Linked DNA regions of Homo sapiens: region 1 is linked to region 2. The links are contacts of gene promoters, found by promoter capture Hi-C in human tissues and cell types (Jung and others, 2019). All regions are on one chromosome and are shown on one strand. Each heading gives the region's core, a stretch centred on a gene start or on the middle of the fragment in contact. The rest is flanking DNA. Distances are from core to core; before and after follow the strand shown. Region 1 overlaps MGAM2 (maltase-glucoamylase 2 (putative)). Region 2 holds the start of TAS2R38 (taste 2 receptor member 38).

Region 1 (4,785 bases), core at 1,855-4,354, 240 kb before region 2:
TTATGTATTTAAATTTTTATTGATACATAATAATTATACATATTTATGGAGAACATGTGATATTTTGATACATGTATACAATGTGTAGTGATCAAATCAGGGTATTTAGGATATCCATGACCTCAAATAGTCAACATTTGTTTGTTTGTTTGTTTGTTTTGAGATGGAGTCTCACTCTGTCACCCAGGCTGGAGTGCAATGGCGTGGTCTGGGCTCACTGCAACCTCCGCCTCCTGGGTTTAAGCGATTCTCCTGCCTCAGCCTCCTAAGCAGCTGGGACTATAGGTGTGTGCCACCATACCCGGCTAATTTTTGTATTTTTAATAGAGACGGGGTTTCACTATGTTGGCCAGGCTGGTCTCAAATCCCTGACCACGTGATCCTCCTGCCTCGGCCTCCCAAAGTGATGGGATTACAGGTGTGAGCCACCACACCTAGCCACATTCATCATTTCTTCGTGTTGGAAACATTTCAAATATTCTCTTCTAGCTATTTTGAAATATACAATAAATTGTTGTTAACTATCATCACCCTAGTATGTTAGCAAACACAAGAACTCACTCCTGCTATTTAACTGTCTCTTTGTTCCCACTAACCAACCTCTCTTTATGGCCCCCACCCCTTCCCAGCCTCTGGTTACTATAATTCTACTCTCCACACACTTCATGAAGACATACTTCCTGAGTACCTGCTATAATAAATTGGGTAATGCCACAAATAAGTTTATTGTACCAGCATTATGAAAGTTATTTTCCCTATATCATAAGTATTCTTATAATCATTTTGAAAAGAAAATATCATTATTGCTATCTTAGAGATAAGGAAACTGAGGCTCTGGAAAATGAAGTGAGTAGTCCAAAGCGACAAGGCTAGATAACATAGGTAAAGTTGGAAGCGCAAGGTGCCCCTGTACATAGTACTGCACAAGTTAATTTAGAGTGAACAAAGAAGTGTGGCAAACAGTCCCTAGACTGAGGACAGTGTGCAAGAAACATAGGAAGTTAACCAAATCATGAATTGTTTAAGTATCAATACAAGGGTTAAAATAATATGACATAAATTATGAGGTGGCACATGATGAAGGCCCAAATGAAAATCATAGTGGATATTTTTCATGGATGTGAAGAGAAAGGAAAAATTACATGGGAGGAAGAGGGTCAAGAGAGAACTTAGGAAGGACATGTAACTTCGGAACTCCTGGTAAGCATGGGAAGGATTTATTATGAGACAGGAAATAGGGGTACAGGGACACATTGAACAAAGCCACATTCATGGAGGAGTGCAAGGACAACCATAGCTGGTGCTGAGCAAACAGAGACGTGAGGCCAGTTAGGTATGTAAGGAAAGATTTTGAAGATTACATGCAATAATCAAGGAGATAGTTGTAGCAGAGGGAAGCTATGCATTTCTCAATTATGATGGCTGCAGTAGGAAGAGAAAAAAGAAACATGTTCAATTGGCATCATGAAGGATGAACAAGACTTTTGCTACTGGGCAGGCAGAATCAAGGAAAAAATATACAGCTCAAAATAAATGGGTGTACTAAAGCTAGTTCTTATTGATTTGAGAGAGTTGATTTTTAAATTTCCTAGAATTTTGCAAGCCAGCTGATGCTTGAAATTGGTTAAGATGGTGGGAGAAGCTACACTACAGAAATTAGCAAATGTTACAAATCATCTCCCACCCCCACAAGCTGGTTTACCAACCAGGAAACCGCTGATAATAGTTATCCCCTAAGGAAAGTTGCGATCTTTCTTTCATTTCAGGCCCCTTATTCTTAAGGAAATAATCTATCAAACATCACAGAAATAAGAATTCATTTATCAGAAAAATGGAATTTTGAAGTTAGATGTTATTAAAGGGCAATCTAATGTTTTACAATTTTTTAAAAAACACAGATTAAACAGTGTCTCTCCGAATTTGAATAATAGCAGTAGAAATAGAACTAAAATTCAGGACTTCCAGATCATTAAAATAATATTCATTAAAATAATATTTGAGAGGAAAAAATATGTAGAGTCTTCAACCCAACTACTCTTAAGGGCAGAGAATACACAAATTTAATTAGTATACAAAGTCTAGCAGTTAGTTTCAGAGAGGCCAAATGCAGGATGGAACAATATGACCTGATAATCATGTCTATGAGAATAATTTGAAGGTCTTAGCTGACCATGAGATTTATATGTGCCAAACATCTGATACATGTGTTAAAAAATAACACAATGTAATAACAGCAGAAAAAATATAGACTCTAGCTAAAAAGAGGTAGTAGGCAACATGGAAGTCTATGCCATCTTATAGAAATATAAGGGAAACTATATATGTAATTGAATACTTTCTAGTAGTCACATTTTTTTAAAAAGTGAAAAGAAAAAGGGTACATTAATTTCAAAATATATTTTATTTACATGATATAGCCAAAATGTTATTATTACAACATTTTTCAATATAAAATTATTCATGAGGTTTTTTTTTTTTTTTTTTTGAGACAGAGTTTCGCTCTTGCTACCCAGGCTGGAGTGCAATGGCGCGATCTCGGCTCACCACAACCTCTGCCTCCCAGGTTCAAGCGATTCTCCCGCCTCAGCCTCCCAAGTAGTGGGGATTACAGGCATGCGCCACCACGCCTAATTTTTGGATTTTGAGTAGAGACAGGGTTTTCTCCATGTTGGTCAGGCTGGTCTCAAACTCCCGACCTCAGGTGATCCACCTGCCTTGGCTTCCCAAAGTGCTGGCATTACAGGCATGAGCCACCACGCTCAGCCAAATGTTTTTTTTTTTTTTTAATTATACTTTAAGTTCTGGGATACATGTGCAGAACATGCAGGTTTGTTACATAGGTATACATGTGCCATGGTGGTTTGCTGCATCCATCAACCCATCAACCCGTCATCTACATTAGGGATTTCTCCTAATGCTATCTGTCTCCTTGCCCTCCACCCCCAACAGGCCCTGGTGTGTGAAGTTCCCCTCTCTGTGCCCATATGTTCTCATTATTCAACTCCCACATATGAGTGACAACATGCAGTGTTTGGTTTTCTGTTCCTGTGTTAGTTTGCTGAGTGTGATGGTTTCCAGCTTCATCCATGAGCCTGAAAAGGGCATGAACTCATTCTTTTTTATGGCTGCATACTATTCCATGGTATATATGTGCCACATTTTCTTTATCTGGTCTAACACTGATGGGCATTTGGGTTGGTTCTAAGTCTTTGCTATTGTGAACAGTGCTGCAGTAAACAGACTTGTGCCTGTTTCTTTATAGCAGAATGATTTATAACCCTTTGGGTATATACCCAGTAATGGGATTGCTGGGTGAAATGGTATTTCTGGTTCTAGATCCTTGAGGAATCACCACACTGTCTTCCACAATGGTTGAACTAATTTACACTCCCACTGACAGTGTAAAAGCATTCCTATTTCTCCACATCCTCTCCAGCATCTGCTGTTTCCTGACTTTTTGATAATGGCCATTCTAACTGGCATGAGATGATATCTCATTGTGGTTTTGATTTGCATTGGGAAGTATGACCATTTTCACGATACTGATTCTTCCTATCCATGAGCATGGAATGTTTTTCCATTTGCTTGTGTCCTCTCTTATATCCTTGAGTAGTGGTTTGTAGTTCTCCTTGAAGAGGTCCTTCACATCCCTTGTAAGTTGTATTCCTAGGTATCTTCTTCTCTTTGTAGCAATTGTGAGTGGGAGTTTGCTCATGATTTGGCTGTCTATTATTGGTGTATCGAAATGCTTGTGATTTTTGCACATTGATTTTGTATCCTGAGACTTTGCTGAAGTTGCTTATCACCTTAATGAGATTTTCGGCTGAGACAATGGGGTTTTCTAAATATACAATCACATCATCTGCAAATAGAGATAATTTGGCTTCCTCTCTTCCTATTTGAATAAGCTTTATTTCTTTCTCTTTCCTGATTGCCCTGGCCAGAACTTCCAATACTATGCTGAATAGGAGTGGTGAGAGAGGGCATCCTTGTCTTGTGCCGGTTTTCAAAGGGAAAGCTTCCAGCTTTTTCCTATTCAATATGATATTAGCTGTTGGTTTGTCATAAATAGCTCATATTATTTTTATATTTGTTCCATCAATACCCAGTTTATTGAGTGTTTTTAGCATGAAAGGGTGTTGAATTTTATCAAAGGCCTTTTCTGAATCTATTGAGATAATCATGTGGTTTTTGTCATTGGTTCTGTTTATGTGATGGATTGCAATTATTGACTTGCATATGTTGAACCAGCCTTGCATCCCAAGGATGAAGCCAACTTGGTCATGGCTTTTTGATGTGCTGCTGGATTCGGTTTGCCAGTATTTTATGGAGGACTTTTGCATTGATGTTCATCAGGGATACTGGCCTGAAATTTTCTTTTTTTATTGTGTCTCTGCCAGGTGTTGGTATCAGGATGATGCTGACCTCATAAAATGAGTTAGGGCAGAGTCCCTCTTGTTTGGAATAGTTTCAGGAGGAACGGTACCAGTTCCTCTTTGTACTTCTGGTAGAATTCGGCTGTGAATCTGTCTGGTCCTGGGCTGTTTTGGTTGGTAGGCTCTTAATTTAGTGCCTCAATTTCAGACCTTGTTATTGGTCTACTCAGGGATTCAACTTCTCCCTGGTTTTACCTTCAGAGGGTGTATGTGTCCAGGAATTTATCAATTTCTTCTAGATTTTCTAGTTTATTTGCATAGAGGTGTTTATAGTATTCTCTGATGGTAGTTTGTATTTCTGTGGGATCAGCGGTGATCTCCTCTCTACCATTTTTTATTGTGTCTATTT
Region 2 (4,776 bases), core at 884-3,383:
TTTCCTCTAAAGTAAGGTATGGCTTACTTTAAGCTTTATGGCTTTAAGGCTGTGCTCTTTCAGTTCCTCTAATACGCCTTTGTTTACCAGTGTGTCCTCAATGCCCATTACAACAGGTGGAATATATTTTGCTCTTAATAAACATATATTGGTATGTCCATTTCTCTAGTCATTGGAAACATCTAAGCAAGGTATTTTAAGGGAATGAGGTTTGATATTACTAATAATAGTGTTCTTCTGTCAAGCTAACAAAGACCAATTTTTAAAAATCAATCCAAAGAATGTAATTCCAATCTCCAAAAATAAATGGCAGCAAAAGTCGAAACACCAATTTATATAGGTTAAGAATTTTTAACATCTGTTTAGTTGCAAAATCCAGGGACTAAGATTTTTTTAATTACATCTGATAAAGATGTAGTCACTGACTTATATCACTACTAATAACAAATAAGGAGCTTTTGTGTTCCTACCACTGCTCTTACTGGCATTGCAGTTGACTTTACTGTTTTTAGCTTCCTGAGTAAACCATTTTTCAAAAAATAGCCAATAGCTAAGGACTATCTGCAAAGGAGATTACTTAGATAATCCCAAACACTGTGTGTACATAAGTCAAATGGAGGGGGTGTATCAATGAAGGTTTGTGTTACCTTTCTCTGAAAGAGCCCTTGATTATTGAAAAATTAAGATTGGATCTGGTGTTCCAAGAAATAACATAAAGAACTTTATTTTTTAATAAAAGATTATAATCTTGATATAAATGGTTCTAACTGTATAGTTATATATCTCTGCTTGTGCAGTAGAGCAAGTTTCTACCTAGACTTTTTAGGGAGGCAAACATCTTTTCTAAACACCTTTAGTGCAACACCGCCACCTGGTGTGGTGAAGACAAGGAGAAAATTAGCTTAAGTTGAAAGTGCAGAATTCTGTGTTTGACACTCTGTAAGCATGAATGACCCAAATGAAGTGGTCACAAACACAATTAATTAAATACAACTGCTACATCATGATGCACAAATAAGGACTACATAAATATCTGCGTATGAACAGTTCAGAATAAAACAAAAGTGAACATCTTTAGTAATCACTGACTTATGTCACTACTAATAATAAAAAAGGAGCTTTAGTCAAAAGAAAACATAAAAAATACAAAGAGAAAGTATCGAAAAACACCAATGGGGCAGCACCAATAACTCTTAAAGGATTTATCGGGGGAAATTCACTCATAAGTGGCAGTTGAACAATGAGAACACATGGACACAGGGAGGGGAACATCAAACACCAGGGCCTGTCAGGGGGTAGGGGGCAAGGGGAAGGAGACCATTAGGAGAAATACCTAATATAGATAACGGGTTGATGGGTGCAGCGAACCACCATGGCAGGTGTATGCCTATGTAACAAGCCTGCATGTTCTGCACATGTACCCCAGAACTTATACTAATTAAAAAATAAACATAATAATAATCCAAACCAGCTATGCCCCCTTTCCTCTCCCTTCATGACAGCGTGCTAGTCTTGTTCATGTTAATATTCTCCTTGCCAGGCACAGTGCCTGGCATAATAATGATGATTGCATGAAACCTTTGGCAACAGCAAATAAAACTGCAATCATACACTGACACATGGAAAGGAACCATGCATTTATCTATATTAAAAACACAGTCTGTGATAAGAGTCATTACTTCACAGATGAGAGAAGGAATGCAAATGAAAAGAGACTCTATTTCAAACCTTAGATCACCAAGAATATCTGCTTTGCCTGCTGCAGGGTGCCTCAAAACCCATAAGCAAATCCTGTTCTCTTCGCCACCCCCACAGGTCCAGATGGGCATGCAAAACTGGATTGGGGAAATTGAGGCCCTGTTTTGTTTGCATCCGTGATGCTGTGCTATGGCCTTCTGGGAAGGCGGTTGTACAGGAACACCTGGATTTATTAATCTTGCATCACCCAAGAGGTAGAACCATCAGTCTTCCACCCTATGATAAGCTCTTACGTGTATCCAAGAGATGTTCTAGAGAAACAACATCCCTCTAAGTTTCCTGCCAGAACTTTTTATGCGCTCGCTTTGGGATAGATCTAGGCAAAGAGCTGGATGCTTTGTGAAGGAAAGGTCCTGGCTTGGAACGTACATTTACCTTTCTGCACTGGGTGGCAACCAGGTCTTTAGATTAGCCAACTAGAGAAGAGAAGTAGAATAGCCAATTAGAGAAGTGACATCATGTTGACTCTAACTCGCATCCGCACTGTGTCCTATGAAGTCAGGAGTACATTTCTGTTCATTTCAGTCCTGGAGTTTGCAGTGGGGTTTCTGACCAATGCCTTCGTTTTCTTGGTGAATTTTTGGGATGTAGTGAAGAGGCAGGCACTGAGCAACAGTGATTGTGTGCTGCTGTGTCTCAGCATCAGCCGGCTTTTCCTGCATGGACTGCTGTTCCTGAGTGCTATCCAGCTTACCCACTTCCAGAAGTTGAGTGAACCACTGAACCACAGCTACCAAGCCATCATCATGCTATGGATGATTGCAAACCAAGCCAACCTCTGGCTTGCTGCCTGCCTCAGCCTGCTTTACTGCTCCAAGCTCATCCGTTTCTCTCACACCTTCCTGATCTGCTTGGCAAGCTGGGTCTCCAGGAAGATCTCCCAGATGCTCCTGGGTATTATTCTTTGCTCCTGCATCTGCACTGTCCTCTGTGTTTGGTGCTTTTTTAGCAGACCTCACTTCACAGTCACAACTGTGCTATTCATGAATAACAATACAAGGCTCAACTGGCAGATTAAAGATCTCAATTTATTTTATTCCTTTCTCTTCTGCTATCTGTGGTCTGTGCCTCCTTTCCTATTGTTTCTGGTTTCTTCTGGGATGCTGACTGTCTCCCTGGGAAGGCACATGAGGACAATGAAGGTCTATACCAGAAACTCTCGTGACCCCAGCCTGGAGGCCCACATTAAAGCCCTCAAGTCTCTTGTCTCCTTTTTCTGCTTCTTTGTGATATCATCCTGTGCTGCCTTCATCTCTGTGCCCCTACTGATTCTGTGGCGCGACAAAATAGGGGTGATGGTTTGTGTTGGGATAATGGCAGCTTGTCCCTCTGGGCATGCAGCCATCCTGATCTCAGGCAATGCCAAGTTGAGGAGAGCTGTGATGACCATTCTGCTCTGGGCTCAGAGCAGCCTGAAGGTAAGAGCCGACCACAAGGCAGATTCCCGGACACTGTGCTGAGAATGGACATGAAATGAGCTCTTCATTAATACGCCTGTGAGTCTTCATAAATATGCCTCTGATTCTTCAGGAATACAACTCTGATTCCTCACAAAGCCTTCCAATTTCTTCTATAAAACACAATTGAAAGTCTCTCCACTTTGTATCAATGAACTCACTTATAGATGAATAAAATAATTAAGCACTATACATGGCCTAGGCAAGAATAATGTTGGTACCCTAGGTTTGTTTTGATAAAATGAACAAAATAATTAAGTATTTGGTGTAAATCCTTTATATACTATAGCTTATTATTGGTATAAATCAAACCATGAGAAATCATCTCTTCTGAAATAATATCTAAATCCCAAGATAATATGTTTGGCTTTTAACATGACTGTTAAACCTCTTTCTCGGAACTTGTGCTAGCATCATTTTTGGAAATATTCACTACTACAATAAGGATATAATCCTCTTCAAACTTCGCAATTTTCATGGAAACAAAGACAAACTTGGAATGATAATTATGTCATAATTCCAGCTTCAAGAGGTACCACATAACTTCAACTTCAAGAGGCACGAGAGGATAGGGGTCGTTTTGTCTGAAAATACACTGATCCAGAAATGCACTTTTACCTACTCTATAATGATGGAAGAGAAGCAGATATTTGCTCAGTAGGTGACCTGGATGCCAGTAGGTGCCCTGTGTGGGCTTTCTGGCTATGCCCAATTTGCCTTTGAAGATGGTGCTTTGCCTGGTACCAAGTATTGGTCTCTCTGGTTGGAGACCCTACCAAAATCACCTAGCTGAAAGGTAAATTTGTAGAGATTTGGCATTGTCTGTATTCCTGCACAGGAACCCAGCCAGGAAGGCTTTCCTCAAATCAGGTACTGAAAGACTCAGGAGAAAACAAGGTATACCAGACATTTAAATCTTGATAGGCTTCGTGGTTCACAGGCTTCACAGTTGTAGCAGCTCACCACCAAGGCTCTTAGTTCTGCCAGCTGTGGGGCCAGAGAACTGTTTCCTCCTCTCAGGCACTTGGTCTTAATAGATCCAGATCTTCACCTCAGTTTTCCTCCAAAAATTAGCCATTTCTTCACCTGCAGTGGCTACAAAATTTGCAACTTCATCTGGCTTCCTTTCCTTGGTGGACACTGAAGTTGTCCCAGGATTCCCTTAAAGACCTAGGTCCTCGCTCTTGGCTGCACATTGAAATTATCTAAGGGGCTTTTTAAAAATCTCAATGTCCAGGCCAAATACAACCAATCAAATCAAATCTCTTGAGATGAAATGAGGCTTTTATTCTTTAATGCTCCTCAGGTGATTTCGGGGTGCAGCCAATGTTGAGATCCACTCTTCTAGATGCCCTGTTGGTGTAGAGGTGGAGCATCTTTTCATATGTTTATTTGTATGGCTTTATTTTTAACATTATGTTTCTGAGATTCACCCATAATATTATATGAGTCACTGCTTGCTTACCTACTCACTATTGCTGAACATTTTCCATTGCCTACAGTGTGGGGCTACTATGAATAAAGTTTCTATACACATTCTTGAATCCATTTCTTTGTAGGC

What was found. The method cuts DNA at HindIII sites, captures the fragments that hold promoters and counts their contacts. A contact is called where the count stands out against the background at its distance.
Region 1: a contact is called between a fragment that was not itself captured here and the fragment with the promoter of TAS2R38 in region 2, in 2 of the 25 tissues and cell types used here (H1 embryonic stem cells and small bowel).

Annotation. Positions count from the first base shown.
Region 1 is chr7:142,213,459-142,218,243 of GRCh38, reverse strand. All of the region lies in intron 46 of MGAM2 (maltase-glucoamylase 2 (putative)), which reads right to left. Among named protein-coding and RNA genes, the nearest start is that of PRSS58, 42 kb to the left of the region's middle. The HindIII fragment of the contact is 7,209 bases long and covers 1-4,785 here.
Region 2 is chr7:141,971,130-141,975,905 of GRCh38, reverse strand. It overlaps TAS2R38 (taste 2 receptor member 38), which reads left to right and starts at 2,133. Exons shown (of 1, transcript NM_176817.5): 1 at 2,133-3,275. The coding sequence starts at 2,217. The coding sequence ends at 3,218. The HindIII fragment of the contact is 11,635 bases long and covers 1-4,776 here.